Regions from separate parts of the Homo sapiens genome. Here region 2 is linked to region 1. The links are contacts of gene promoters, found by promoter capture Hi-C in human tissues and cell types (Jung and others, 2019). All regions are on one chromosome and are shown on one strand. Each heading gives the region's core, a stretch centred on a gene start or on the middle of the fragment in contact. The rest is flanking DNA. Distances are from core to core; before and after follow the strand shown.

What was found. The method cuts DNA at HindIII sites, captures the fragments that hold promoters and counts their contacts. A contact is called where the count stands out against the background at its distance.
Region 2: a fragment that was not itself captured here is called in contact with the fragment with the promoter of PLA2G12A in region 1 in 1 of the 25 tissues and cell types used here (lymphoblastoid cells).

Annotation. Positions count from the first base shown.
Region 1 is chr4:109,725,331-109,732,805 of GRCh38, reverse strand. PLA2G12A (phospholipase A2 group XIIA) reads left to right here and starts at 2,736. Exons shown (of 4, transcript NM_030821.5): 1 at 2,736-3,204. The coding sequence starts at 2,997. It also overlaps a transcript of CFI not described here. RefSeq lists enhancers at 1,742-2,618, 3,278-3,347 and a silencer at 2,608-2,947. The HindIII fragment of the contact is 10,778 bases long and covers 678-7,475 here.
Region 2 is chr4:110,496,035-110,503,509 of GRCh38, reverse strand. The region is part of intron 3 of ENPEP (glutamyl aminopeptidase); the gene reads right to left. Among named protein-coding and RNA genes, the nearest start is that of ENPEP, 24 kb to the right of the region's middle. The HindIII fragment of the contact is 7,394 bases long and covers 1-6,468 here.

The DNA.
Region 1 (7,475 bases), core at 1,487-3,986:
GGCTCATTGCAAGCTCTGCCTCCCGGGTTCACGCCATTCACCTGCCTCAGCCTCCCGAGTAGCTGGGACTACAGGTGCCCGCCACCATGCCCAGCTAACTTTTTGTATTTTTAGTAGAGACAGGGTTTCACCGTGTTAGCCAGGATGGTCTCGATCTCCTGACCTCGTGATCTGCCCATCTCAGCCTCCCAAAGTGCTGGGATTACAGGCGTGAGCCACCGCACCCGGCCATCACCTTGAAATTCTTAATTTTTGAGCAAGGGGCTCTGTATTTTTATTTTGCACTGAGCCCTACAAATTATACAGATAGTCTGTGGTCAGTGCAGATCCCTGGTATTTAACAGCATCAATTAAGAGGAAAACGTAAACCTTGTAATTACTGCAGCAGAACAACAAATATATAATGATTAAATGTGAAAAGAATGTGAAAATAAAACTTAGAGTCTTGTTTTCTACAAAAATGGTGGTGATTCTCATGGGGAAGACAGTGGAAAGATTTGCTTGAGAGAAAGAGAACAGCTGCATCAAGCCAGAAGAACTGGCATTTGAGAATTTAATCCCTAAGGAGAGATCAGACAAAGAAAACTACGTCTGATTCCTCAGAGTATAGGCTGTAGTTAAGGTGTAAGAAATTAGATGAGATCACAAAGAAGTAAATAAATAGAGAAAGTGGGGGAAAGGAGAGGCTTTGGGTCATAACTGAGGGCTGGAACTAGGTTATTTTATTACATTCTATCCTTTCTTTTGAAAGTCTTGTCCCTGGACTAGGGAGTTGTAAGAACCAAGCCTGGTTTAAGGATTCAGGTGGTGGTATCTCAGAGGTAATCTAGTCCAACTTTCATACTTTGGAGCTGAGAAACCAATGTTCCAGAAAGCTAAGACAATGATTCTAAGTTCCCTTTTTAAAATGTATTGAAATGTGTTGTCTAAAAATTAAAAAATAAAAATATCTGTGGTATTTTGTGAAGACAGAGGCCTTGGTTTGGAGTAGATACTGTCACATGACTTCTCACCTCGACTCTTTTATTGTAAAAGAGGAAGATAATAATACCTTCCAGGGAACATTCTTCCCCCTTCTCCATTGTGGTAGGAATTAATCACTGCCCAAGACTCCTGGTTGAGGGGCTGAGTGAAGTGCAGGCAGTCTCCAGCCAGGAGCTACACCGTTTGTTGGGCTACCCTGTTTGTAGGGAGGAATGCCTTTCTATGTTTCTAACTTGCCCAAAGTCTGCATCCTTGTAAAGTAGTGTTCTGAATGTGAGCGATCATATTCATGAAGTGCCTGGCACATAGTAAGCACTCAATAAAGAGGGATGTAATTTTTATGAACTGTGCACTGAACGTTTATTATAAGCTCATTTAGTTTGTAACAAACACAAAAGGCCAAACCTAGAACTTATTGGTAATTCTTATAGAAAGGACACACCTATGCCCAATACTTACTCACTTTCTTTTTTTTTTAGAGTCTCGCTCTGTGCCCCAAGCTGGAGTGCAGTGGTGCAATCTCAGCTCACTGCAACATCCATCCACCTCCTGGGTTCAAGTGATTCTCCTGCCTCCGCCTCCCGAGTAGCTGGGATTACAGGTGCCCGCCACCACGCCCAGCTAATTTTCTGTATTTTTGGTAGAGATGGGGTTTCACCATGTCAGCCAGGCTGGTCTCGAACTTCTGACCTCAGGAGTTCCAGGCCTCCCAAGGTGCTGGGATTACAGGCGTAAACCACCGCGCTTGGTCTGCCCAATACTTTCAACATTGCTCTGGATCTTACTGTAAAATTCTTGGAAACTGCTGTGATACTAAGATAACCAGATATTTACAACTGATACAAAGTACTACTGCAATAGTTATTTATGGATCCCGCACAATGCTGGGGGCAGGGTGGTAGGTACAGAGAAACAAACGTCACTGTAACTATCAAGTTACAAAATCCCTTGAGTAGAAAAACAATGACTTCCTTAAGATTTATTTTACTTTTTACTGTATTTAAGTTTACACTACTGTTTCTTCCTTACCAGGGGAGAATTTTATGATTTTTATGTTGGCCCATTTTCTTTTTCCGGAAAGTCTAAACTAGCATTTAGCTCGTCCTGATTAGAGTCAGGCACCGCCAAGGCATGGGTTGGCATCTTCCAGATCCCGCTCCCCCAACCGCGGCCACAGCAGATCTGGAGGACCGGGAGAGGACGCAAGGAGGAAAAGCCCTGCTCTGCGAGCTGACAGCCGGACTCTGCCCACATTGCCAATGGAACCACGTCTTCAAGCCGGAAACTCAGCTGGACCTCTCGCAGCGCTCTCTGCGAGGGGGCACAGGGGTTATTTTCTCCGATGTTGTCCACACCCAGAAAAGCTTGTCTCTCGGGGCTACTGTGCTGAGCCCCGACTGGTCAGGTTAGGCCACCGGGGTTAGCTCTGCAACTCTTGCTTCACGGTTAACAGCCCGGAGAGCTTTCTTAAAAAATACCGACGCCCACTGCCACCTGGGACAACGTAATCAGGCTCCCTAGAAAAGGGGCTCAGGCCTGGGTACTTTTTAAGGTTCTCTTGTGAACCAGGACCAAGGGTCTTGGGAGGGTGCCGCGGAGACCACGTGGGCATGGAGGCCCCGCCCCCGTTTCCCGCCCCGCGCGCCCCTCCCCCGGTTCCCCGCCCCCCCCAACCCCGCCCCCGCCCCGCCCCACCCCTGCGCGTCCCGCCCCTCCCGTGCGCCGCTGACGCGCCGTGCTCCGGCGCAGGCGCACAGGGGACGGTTGCTGGCCCAGGTGAGCGGGCGCGCTGGTCCAGGTGAGCGGGCGCGTCCCCGCGACGGCGCTGCCTGCCCGAGGCGGTTCACGTAAAGACAGCGAGATCCTGAGGGCCAGCCGGGAAGGAGGCGTGGATATGGAGCTGGCTGCTGCCAAGTCCGGGGCCCGCGCCGCTGCCTAGCGCGTCCTGGGGACTCTGTGGGGACGCGCCCCGCGCCGCGGCTCGGGGACCCGTAGAGCCCGGCGCTGCGCGCATGGCCCTGCTCTCGCGCCCCGCGCTCACCCTCCTGCTCCTCCTCATGGCCGCTGTTGTCAGGTGCCAGGAGCAGGCCCAGACCACCGACTGGAGAGCCACCCTGAAGACCATCCGGAACGGCGTTCATAAGATAGACACGTACCTGAACGCCGCCTTGGACCTCCTGGGAGGCGAGGACGGTCTCTGCCAGTATAAATGCAGTGACGGTGAGGGGGCACCCGGGCCCAGCGAGGGCTCGTGCTTTCGGGGGATTGGGGTGACGGAGATCCTGGAGGTGTGAGTGACAGATGCAAGGCAGACCTTGACGGTGTCCTTCGGCTGTGGAAAAACTTAACCACTGCTAGAATCTTGCCGTTCTAGTGATTGAGCAAGCTGGGTACAAGTTCGCACCACTATTGTTAGAATGTGAGAGGTCACATTCTAACGGAGAGGTGTACCCCCCGTCCCATTTGCATTGCTTCTGAATTACCTTTTCCCCCCCTCAATTGCACCAAGTTGCCGAAGAACTTACTGACGTAGGAATCATGGGAATAGAGTGGAACAGACTGGTTTTAGCTCATTTTTGCTTCTGTAAATTGGATGAACATGCGAAGCAAACTGAGAATTTAAAAACCATGCCGTATTAACTTTCTCTATAATTGATATTAAATGGTTTTTTTTCTGCAAACCCATAGACAATAACTTGCGACCTTTGTACAGACTTTTGGTGTACTCGAGTGTTGAGAAAGGGTTCCGATAACTCTTCTTTCCTTAGATATCAGTGACCCGCCTCCTCCTCATTGTTGGTTAACGTTAATACAGTTATCTTCATTTACTCTTTTAATATTTTTTGAACTTTCTCTTTGAACCTGAGAATTTGTTTGGTGGCGGTATGAGTACTAATCAACTCAGTATTTCAGGCAGAGATAGTTCTTTTGTAGCACATTTTTGAGTGCTTAAATATTTTAATAGGTCAGAAAAATATTGGACTTTTGTTTGGAAATTGAAAATGTTAAGAGAGCAGTTGGGAGATCATGTTTCCAATAAGATTAGCCAAGGTTAGAGTCTCATTATGCTGGCAGCGGAAAATAATCGGGGATCCAGTGACTTCATTGTTGGAACCTGATTGTATAGGTGAACTTAAAAGGAACTGGTATCATGTAAACCTATGATGCCACATGCTGCCTGCAATTTTCAAGATAATTTCTAGTTTTATGTTAATAGAAGTAAAGGATGAACTGTATCTTGTATACTTTAAAGCGCTGAACAGGTGCTGAGACATGTTGCATTGCTTCTTAAATTTGTGCCTAAACGTTACCACCTAAACGTATGCTTCATGAAGATGTTTTTATTCTTGTAGAACTTGTTCGGAGGATTAAGTGCATAATTTAAGGATCAAATAGTTGCCTTTCCTAAAGCAAATGTTACAGTTTTACTTAGTCATTCCTATTCATTATACAAATATTTGAGTCCCAACTGTGCTTCAGATGTTGTTCTAATTTGAGATTCAGCAGTTAATAAAACAGACAAAAATCTCTGTCCGTGGAGCTTGAGTTCTGGTGAGGGAGAGATGGGCAGTAAACTAGTAAATAAGTAAAATTAGGGGAAGTGTGGAGTCTGATCAGGGCAGACGAGGGGCCATGTTGGAGGCAATTTACTCTTCTAAATGGGTTGTTCAGCAAAGGCCTCACTGATGAAAGAATATTTGAGAAGAAATCTGCACGTGGTAAGGGGAGGGAATGTGGTTATTTGGAGAAACAGCATTCCAGACAGAGGGAATAGCAAGTGCAATGGACCTGAGGAGAAAGGCCAGTCAAGGATGACTCTGAAGGTTTTGGCCTGAGCCAAAGGAAGGAAACGGTTGCCATTTACAGAGATAGGGAAGACTTGGAAGGAGTCGTCTTCATAAATTTATTAGTCTAGGGTTCTAGAGTTTATTTACATTTAAAACATGCCTGAAGTTGAATGAATACCAGCCTTGTTAAAATACTGTTTTAGTCTTTTTATTTTATTTTTTGTTAATATTTTTGAGGCAAGGTCTCCCTCTGTGCCCAGGCTAGAGGGCAGTGGTGTGATCATTGCTCCCTGCAGCCTCCAACTCCTGGGCTCAAGCAATTCTCCTGCCTCAGCTTCCCAAATAGCTAGGACTATAGGCCATGCCCCCACTACACCTGGCTTAATCTTTCTTTTTAATCTTTTTCATCTTCTACAGGCTTCTCAAAATTTACTATTTGGAGTTTAGAGGAAGGTCTCTGGCACAAAAAAACACAAAGGAATTTGAGAATTTAAGAAATGTTATATGCCTCAGTGAAAAAAAATTTTTTGTCTTAGTAAGTACTCTACGTTTAACGGACATGTGGTTTCAAGTCCAAGTCACCATACTGATAGATAATTGGATCTCAATGAAAAAAAAAATTAGGCAGGACGTAATGGCTCATGCCTGTAATCCCAGCACTTTGGGAGGCTGAGGCGGGCGGATCAGTTGAGCTCAGGAGTTCGAGACCAGCCTGGCCAACATGGTGAAACCCCGTCTCTACTAAAAATACAAAAATTAGCTGGGCATGGTGGTGCACACCTGTAGTCCCAGCTACTTGGGAGGCTGAGGTAGGAGAATAGCTTGAACCTGGGAGGTGGAGGTTGCAGTGAGCCGAGACCGTGCCTCCAGCCTGGGTGACAGAGCAAGACTCTGTCTCAAAAATAATAATAATAATAATAATAATAAAATTGCTGTTACTCGAGCAGTCTCTCTGGAACAATTCAACCTTTCCTATATTTTGGAATTCAGGTGACCAAATCAGAACCAAACAGAACAATCCCAAATCTGGAGAAACATGGTGATTAAGGGGTATTTTTAGTTGCACGAAAGAGATCAAGAGAGCTTTAAAAAAAAAAAAAAAGAGTGAGTTAATGGTAGGGAGAGGTTGGTCAAATAAAGGGCACATGTCCTTGCTTTACCTGAGGGACTGGCATTATGGAGACTTGCTCCCTTAGTTTTGGCCATCCTCTCTTGGGTAGGAAAAAGGCCTTATTGAGAGTTAAGTATTTAGGGAAATAAATTTGATGATCCGTTATTTTCTTCAACTTTTTTCTCCCTGACAGCAAGGAAGATTTAAGGAAGAAAACTTTTCGATTTCCTTTGAAAAATAGAACACAAAACTGGCTTGTAAATGTTTTTAGAATGATGAATAAGTCATTAATTAATTCAGTGACGTATGTTTTCTAGGATCCCTCTGGCTGTTGTGCTGAGAACAGAAGGGGTCAAGGGAGTGGGGGAGTAAAAATGGAAGCAGGGTGACGCATGCAGGAGTCCAGACAAAAGACGGGTGATTTTGCTCAGGTTGGTAGCAACAGAGGTAATGAGAAGTAGTTGGATTTTGGATATATTTTGAAGGAAGGACCTAAAAGATTTGCTGATGGCTTAGAAGTTAGGTATGAGTTAAGTCAAAAATGATACCACAGTTTTTGGCCTGAACAACTGGAAGGACAGAATTACCATTAACTGATATGGGGAAGACCGTGGAAAGAACAGTTTTCGGGCATTAGGAAAAATAATAACACATTTGTATGCTTTTGAGAATGGTTCAGTGGAGAGTAGAAATACTGACGAGGGAGAGAATTATTGGAGTCATAGCCTTGGGTAAGTGAGAGGGGGTAGTTTCTAGTACATACTTAGAGAGTTTGGCCAAGAGCATATAGCATAGCCCTGTTAATAGGAACACAGGTAGAGGATATGAGCACTGGTGCTGGTTAAGTGGGTGGATGTTCAAGTTCTCCTGATTGCCTGCTTTTTTCAGTAAAGTAGGAATCCAGGTCATCAGCTGACAGAGAAGATGGGGAATGGGGATGTTGGAGATTTGAGGAAAATATAAAAGTGAACAGACTAGAAAAATAAAGTAATATAAGGACCTTTTGGAGATTAATGATCATGAATACTTAAAGTCTCAAGTGTTTGGGAGTGCAGGTTGGAATCTTACAAAACTCTGCCATGAGACCTTTGTGTGACCCAGCAGACTACTTCTTGTGCTTGTCATCTGCTTCATATTCTGTCAGGTGAAAACAGTTGGTCTATCTGGAAGTATTTGCATCAAATTTAGAAAAAATACATGGAAAATAATCAACTTTGTCTCAGTCTATGAAAATCTTTAGATTTCTGCAGTCCATACAAATGATAAACAATCAAGAGAAGGAGCTATTGCTTAAGTCAAAAATGGAAATTAATGAATAGTCTTTCCATGCAGTTGTACACAGTGGATTTGGTTTGTATCCGCTTACAAATTTTAGAGGACAATGGCCGCAACACATCATGGTGTTTTGATGTTACTCTGATTTTGTTTCTTCCATTATTGAGTTTTTGCTTTATTTGTAAAAACTGGCACCAGTAGAAATGCTAATTTTTAAAATGCTTAGCCATTTATAAAACTATAACAAAATTTAAAATATTAATACATTTGTAACATTGGTGTCTGAATCAACTTAACCTCTAATAAAGAACTGTCTA
Region 2 (7,475 bases), core at 1,522-4,021, 770 kb before region 1:
ATCATTGAGATTCCATTGAGAACCATTGAGAAAGTTGAAACCAATCCAAGGAAACTAAGGATTACAATATAACAGTACAGGAACTGAAAGACAAAATAACCGTTATAAGAAAGAACCAAAATGACCTGACAGAGCTAAAAAAAACACACTACAGGAATTTCATAATGAAATCACAATTATTAACAGCAGAATAGGCCAAGCTGAAGAAAGAATCTCAGAGCTCAAAAACTGGCTCCCCAAACTAACTCAGTCCGACAAAAATAAAGAAAACATCCAGTTCATGTCCTTTGTAGGGACATGGATGAAGCTGGAAACCATCATTCTCAGCAAACTGTCACAAGGACAAAAAACCAAACACTGCATATTCTCACTCATAGGTGGGAATTGAACAATGAGAACACTTGGACACAGGAAGGAGAACATCACACACCAGGGCCTGTCGTGGGGTGGGGGGAGCGGGGAGGGATAGCATTAGGAGATATACCTAATGTAAATGACGAGTTAATGGGTGCAGCACACCAACATGGCACATGTATACATATGTAACAAACCTGCACGTTGTGTACATGCACCCTAGAACTTAAAGTATAATAATTAAAAAAAAAGAAAACATCGAATAAGAAGAATCAATATTGTTAAAATGGCCATACTGCCCAAAGCAATTCACAGATTCAGTGGTGTTCCTATCAAACAACCAGTGATAGTTTTGACAGAATTAGAAAAAAACTATTTTAAAATTTATATGGCACCAAAAATATAATTGCCAAGGTAATTTTAAGCAAAAAGAAAAAGCTGGAGGAATCACATTACCTGACTTTAAACTATACTACAAGCCTATAGTAACCAAAACAGCATGGTACTAAGACAAAAATAGACACACAGACCAATGACACAGAATAGAGAGCCCAGAAATAATGCCATACACCTGCAACCATCTGATCTTCAACAAAGTTGACAGAAAGAAGCAATAGGGATAAGACTCTCTATTCAATAAATGATGCTGGGATAACTGACTAGCCGTATGCAGAAGATTGAAACTGGACCCCTTCCTTACACCATATACAAAAGTCAACTCAAGACAGGTTAAAAAGTGTAAAACCTAAAACTATAAAAACCCTGGAAGATAACCTAGGAAATACCATTCCAGACATAGGACCTGGCAAAGATTTCATGACAAAGATGCCAAAAGAAACTGCAACAAAACCATAAGTAGGCAAATGGACTTAAACTAAAGAGCTTCTGCACAGCAAAAGGAACTATCAATAGAGTAAACAGACAACATACAGAATGAGAGAAAATATTTGCAAACTATGCATCCAACTAAGGTAAAATATCCAGAATCTGTAAAGAACTTAAATCAGCAAGCAAAAACAAACAACCCTATTAAACAATGGGCAAAGGATGTGAACAGACACTTTTCAAAAGACACTTTTCACATATGGCCCACAAGCATATGAAAAAATGCTCAACATGACTAATCATTAGAGAACTGCAAATCAAAACCACAATGAGATACTATCTCACCCAGTCAGAATGGCTATTATTAAAAGGTCAAAAAATAACATGCTGGCAAACTTGTAGAGAAAAAGGAACACTTATACACTGTTGGTGGGAATGCAAATTAGTTTATCCATTGTGGAAAGCAGTTTGGCAATTTCTCAAAGAACTAAAGCAGAATTACCAAATGATCCAGCCATCTTATTACAGGATATATATACCCAAGGAAATATAAACTGTTCTGCCGTAAAGACACAGGCCTCCATACGTTCATCACAGCACTATTCACAGTAGCAAAGACGTGGATGGAATCAACTTATTTTCATCAACAGTAGACTGGATAAATAAAATGTGGTATATATACAGCATGGACTACTTCACAGCCATAAAAAAGAATGAGATCATGTCCTTTGCAGCATCATGGATAAAGCTGGAGTCTTTTATCCTAAGAGAACTAGCATAGCAGCAGAGAACCAAATACCACATCTTCTCACTTATAAGTGGGACCTAAACATTGAGTACTCATGGACCCCAAGAAGGAAGCAATAGACATCAAGGCCTACTTGAAAGTAGAGAGGGAGGAGGGTGAGAATGAGAAAACCACCTATCGGGCACTATGCTTATTACCTGAGAAGTGAAACAATCTGTACACCAAACCCCTATGACATGCAATTTACTATATAGCAAACCCGTACATATACCCCTGAACCTAAAATAAAAGCTTAAAAAAGAAATATTTTACAGAAGTTACCATAAAAAAATCAGGTCATAGATTTTATTCTATAACTGCTACTTTGATCAACAGAGCCAAACAATCAGAGAATATATAGCTACAGCCCATTAATTTTGTAACATATTAAGCCAAAGCATAACTGTGTCTTAACTACCATATATCACAAACATTTTTATATTAAAGACTCTACCAACATGCCAACATTTTCTGTCGTTTAAAGCTCCAACATGGTTTCTGTAATCCGTGTAACAACAGAACATCTGTGATGCTTGGATTTGGTGATTTTGAAAGCATCCTCCCTTGTGCTGATGCCTTCACTCATCCTCACCACACTTTTCCCGCTCTCTGACCCCACCTTTAATGTATGCTCCATCTGCATCTCCTTCTCCTCTCTCTGGGCTTTGGCAGAGGTGACTGACTCTCCCCTATCATCTGCTAAGCCTCAGCACTTCTGTACATGATAAAGTTCAGGCAATTACCCCTGACTCGTCATCATTATTTAATAATTGACATTTTTCTAGTTTATGTGCTTGCTTTACTGAGATGATTTTTTAAGCGTGTGACAACCCATACTGAAATAACATGGAGTGAGGAGGGATGCATACATGTATTTTCTTTCTTCTTTATCTTTTAAAAGAGTCATATATGACTTTTTAAATGTAAGAACCCTATTAACGTTTAAATATAAAGTTCGTATGTCTACTTTATCACTTTATATGTAAACATTATATATAAACATAAATATGAAGTTTATAAGTCTTCAAGAACCTAACTTTCATGCATATATTTACTTTTTGAAGACAGTAACTTCCCTAGGCAAATTAAATTACCTGGTATACTACTGTTGGATACCATTAGTCGTCTTTCAAAGCACTGAATCTATGGAGCTAGTATCAGTGGAAAAACTTTGGGCTTTATACAGCCTTATTCAGCTGATATTCTTTTGGGAGGTAAGACATATCTGCTTTAACATAGCTTTTGCTTTTCCCTTATCATATTGGAGCCTGCTGTAATGTAGGCTCTTAGAGTTCTTAATGTTATCCCTTTCATTCAAGTGTCTCAAACCATTTGAGAGATAGAACTTAAGTCCATGAGAATCGATTCCTGGTTGATTACCATTACTTCCTTTACGTGTCCCTTTGCCACACTTGACTTCACTTGACAATCATGACTAGATGCATTAGATCAATCTTCCTTGAACAATTTAATGAGGCTGTGCACCATCTTTATCTTCAATGATTATTTATGTCCCTGCAACCAAAACCAAGCACAAAGCTCAGCGATAGTATTATGATTACTTATTAGTCTTATTATTGAGAACTTAAATTTTTTCAAGGAATGTGATAAGCATTTTCCATGCAACATTTCTTTTACTCCACACGTCAATTCTATGAATCCAGAATTATTAATAATAATAGAAAAAATATTTTGCATCACTGATAATTACCCCAATCCGTTCACTGGTCCAGTTCCCACAACCCCTAATCCACACTAATAAATCCAATGAGTTCTAAAACTTTTTATATGTTTAAGCAAACTAATTTGGCAATATCATATGACCTGAACTGTTAAGAGTTTTTCAAAAATCTTTATTTTTCTCACTATAAAAAATTGCTGCAGAAGTATCACTGATTATAAGACATTGCCCCAAATCCCACTGTAGTTAATCATTAACATATAGTATTCAAACTACATTACCTTTCACAAATCTGAAAATTTCTGAATTCCAACATACAACTGGCCATGAGGGTTTGGGACAAGGATTGTAGACCTCTATTTATAATTTTAGAGTTTGAAGGTGATTTGAAAATAAACTTCCTCATTGTATACATGAGAAAAATGAAGTCTAAGACAGGACCGACGCTAGAGTTCAGGACAAAGTTTGTTTTCACATATCATGCTGCCTATTTTCTCTACTTATAAGACTGAATCTTGACCTCCCCAGCTGTAAAATAGATATAACAACAGCACTTATGTCATAGGGTTATTTCGAGTATTAAATAACACATAAGCAATGTTTGACATGTAATAGTTCTATGTGTCCCATCAAAAGTGTTAGTATCATTAGAGATAATACACTGAATTATTAACCTCTGTAATTTTCTGTGTGCGTACTTCCTTATATGTGATTGATACTTACACTATGGTGTCCACATTGCCAGTAAGAACATTGAAAAATGCAGGGGAAAAAAATAAATGTTATGGTTTTGACTTTCAAAATAGGCTCTTGATGCCCACACAACACATTTAAAAGCCCAAACTTTTTGGATTGTAAGGGCCTGGTTTCAAAAGACTTTTAGCAATAAAAACAGAAGGCCAGGAAAAAAGCAAACCACAGGGTTTTTAACTCTAATAATAATTGAAAAGAGAATAAAGAGATGTCCAGGCTACTCTGTCTCAAAAAACTAGACAAAATTTACCTGGGCCAGGGAAGGTGAGGGAAGGTTGAAGGGACAAGACCTGAAACAGACCCTGAAAGAGTGTGAGGGGACTGAGATGAGAACCTTGAACTTGGAAAGACCATGGAACAGAAAAGAATCAGCTTAAACAGACTGCCCGTTACCACTGCCACCGTCACCTGGGTCAGAAGCCAGGCAGGGCCCTGCATGATTCCACCTGGAAAGTGCCGCAGCCCCGCTGTGCCCTGGATCCACATCCTTATTGTCCTTGTCTATTGAGTGTTTTCTATTGATAGAGGTGACCATACATTCAGGTTTGCCCAGGAATGTCCCTGGAATGTAAATCTGTTGCTTACCTGTTTATACGTCTTGTTCCAGCTTAATTAATAACACCTCCTCTATTATTTATTATATATATATTTATAGATGATAAATTATATGGTCACTCTACTTATTGACAGCAGCCTGACTTTTCACTGCTGATCATCCCGCAGAAGTAGCACCATTTACCTCTTGAGGTTTTTTTTGCAAGGTCTCATCTGAGCTGTTCCAAAGAGCCACATCATTTTAAATGACGAGCATGCTTAAAGGATCCCCCAAAAACAAGCTGAGATCCTTGGCACTCAGGGCTAGTAACACCAAGAAAGACCTGAAAACACACTTGGGTGGCACAGGGCAGTGGTGACTGTATCTGGTGCACATCTTAATTGAAGTACAGATATCAGCATATTTCACTCTCTTCAGGGTTTAGCATCCTCCAGTGCACATAGTAGATGCTCAATAAAAATGTACACAATAATCAGTTTGAAGAAACTGTTTCATTATCAATACTGAGGTAGCCAGGATGAGAAAGAGAAAATAAATCTATATTGTTTTTAAATATATAAATGCATATTTAAGGTACATAGCTGGTATTACTGAACATGCCATTAATGTGTTAAATTTTATAAAGTTTATGTTCTTTTAAATATTCTTCCAGTAGTAGGTGGAAAGTTAGCAGAGGAGGGTACTTAGTTGAAAGGAATAGTGATACATCAGTTTTTTTCTTTTTAAGTTCTGCCTTATCAATGTGATATATTCTTTCTAAATTTTAGTTTGCTCCTTCCTCATAGATAAATTAGTATGAATATGCAAAACCTTGGTTTGAAGTTTAGGTGAAAAAACACCTTTTTTTCCGCTGTAGCTATGCTGGTTCAAAACATGTTCGGACTCTGAGTCGGAACTCACCTGCTATGAATTGCTGTTTAAGAAGAAACTCAGCACGGCCATTAGGTTACACAAAGCATTTATTGGCCACTTACTTTCCATTTAAGTTAAAATTTAAGTTGTCTGATGCTTAGTGATTATTACTGCAGTATAATTTTTAAGAAATTAAAAAATGAACATTAAAAAATCTAAATTACCCCATAAAATCTTACATTATTTTTATTATTTTGTTTATATTTTTGTAAATTTAAATAAAAAATAAGAATCATTAGCAATCCTCCGTGGCTTACTAAATTAAACAGTTTCCTTCAAGGGAGATTAATAACCTTCCATTTAAAGATAACCCTTCCAGTAAAGAAATTAATTAAAAAAAACTAATTAAAATGTTCTAGAAATCAAATTCATTCTGAAAACTTAGCAAAGCCACAGCCAAAATAAGTTTTTAAAATAATGAAATGACCATATGTCAAAAATAATTCTGAGGAAAACAGAAAAATCACCTTTAGAACACCACAATAACAGTTGTTGTGGACATCCACTGGGGAATGCTACAATAAGTGGTCAAAACCTGAAGAACTAACAGGATATTCACATAGCCTTTAATTATCACTCCCTAAATATTTATTAATCACTGTGGTGGTCATAATGTATATCCATAAATTCTTTGTGACTCCTCCCTCCAGGAAGTAGAGCTTAACTCTCTTCCCCTTGGGTGTGGACTGCATTTAGCGATTGCTTCTAAAAAACAGAAGATTGGAATAAAAAACTAGTAAACTGAAGCAGAGAAACCTAGCAGACACCATCTCAACCAAGTGATCAAAGTTAGCATCACCAGGAATAAGTCATGAGGATGTCATGTACCCCCTGATAGGATGTGATGAAAAGGACCCTTCACCTCTGTGGTATTCTCCAAAATCCAAAGCCTCAGTCTAATCTTGAGGAAACATCACACAAACCCAAACTGAGAAACTTTCTACGAAATACCTGAACAGTACTCTTAAAAAGTGTCAGGATCATAAAAAAGAAAAAAACTGAGAAATGTCATATATCAGAATGAATTAAGGAGACAGCATTGCTAAGTATAATGTAGATGTATCATCTATTGGATTTTGGAATAGAAAAGGCACATTAGTGAAAAAACTGGTGAAATCCAAGTAAAGACTGTTGTTTAGTTAATAGTATTGTATTACATTGATTTCTTAGATTTGACGAATGTTTGATAAATGGTTATATAAGATATTAACATTAAGGGAAGGTTACATGGAGACTCTTGTGTCTTTGCAACTCTCTGTAAATCTAAAATTATTTCAAAATAAGAAGTTTAAAAATATATCTCTGAGCATTAAAGCAATGAAACTTAAAAAATAAGATTATTTCTATGAAGAGAAATACATAAATCAAAGTCTATGGCACAAAACCTAAAACTGTTATAAAGATAGGCTGTTTTTAAAAATCCATGGCATATATACATACATACTCTGCCTTCAGCCTATCTTTCTAATCCAGGCAAACAACGGACTAAGATGGAAGCAAGTAAGAAGACACAGACAGTAGGAAGAACCCATTCACAGAGAGAATCCTAGATGCAATTATTCAGCGATCATCCTGTAAGATTTTTGGAAGAAAGTACAACATAATCC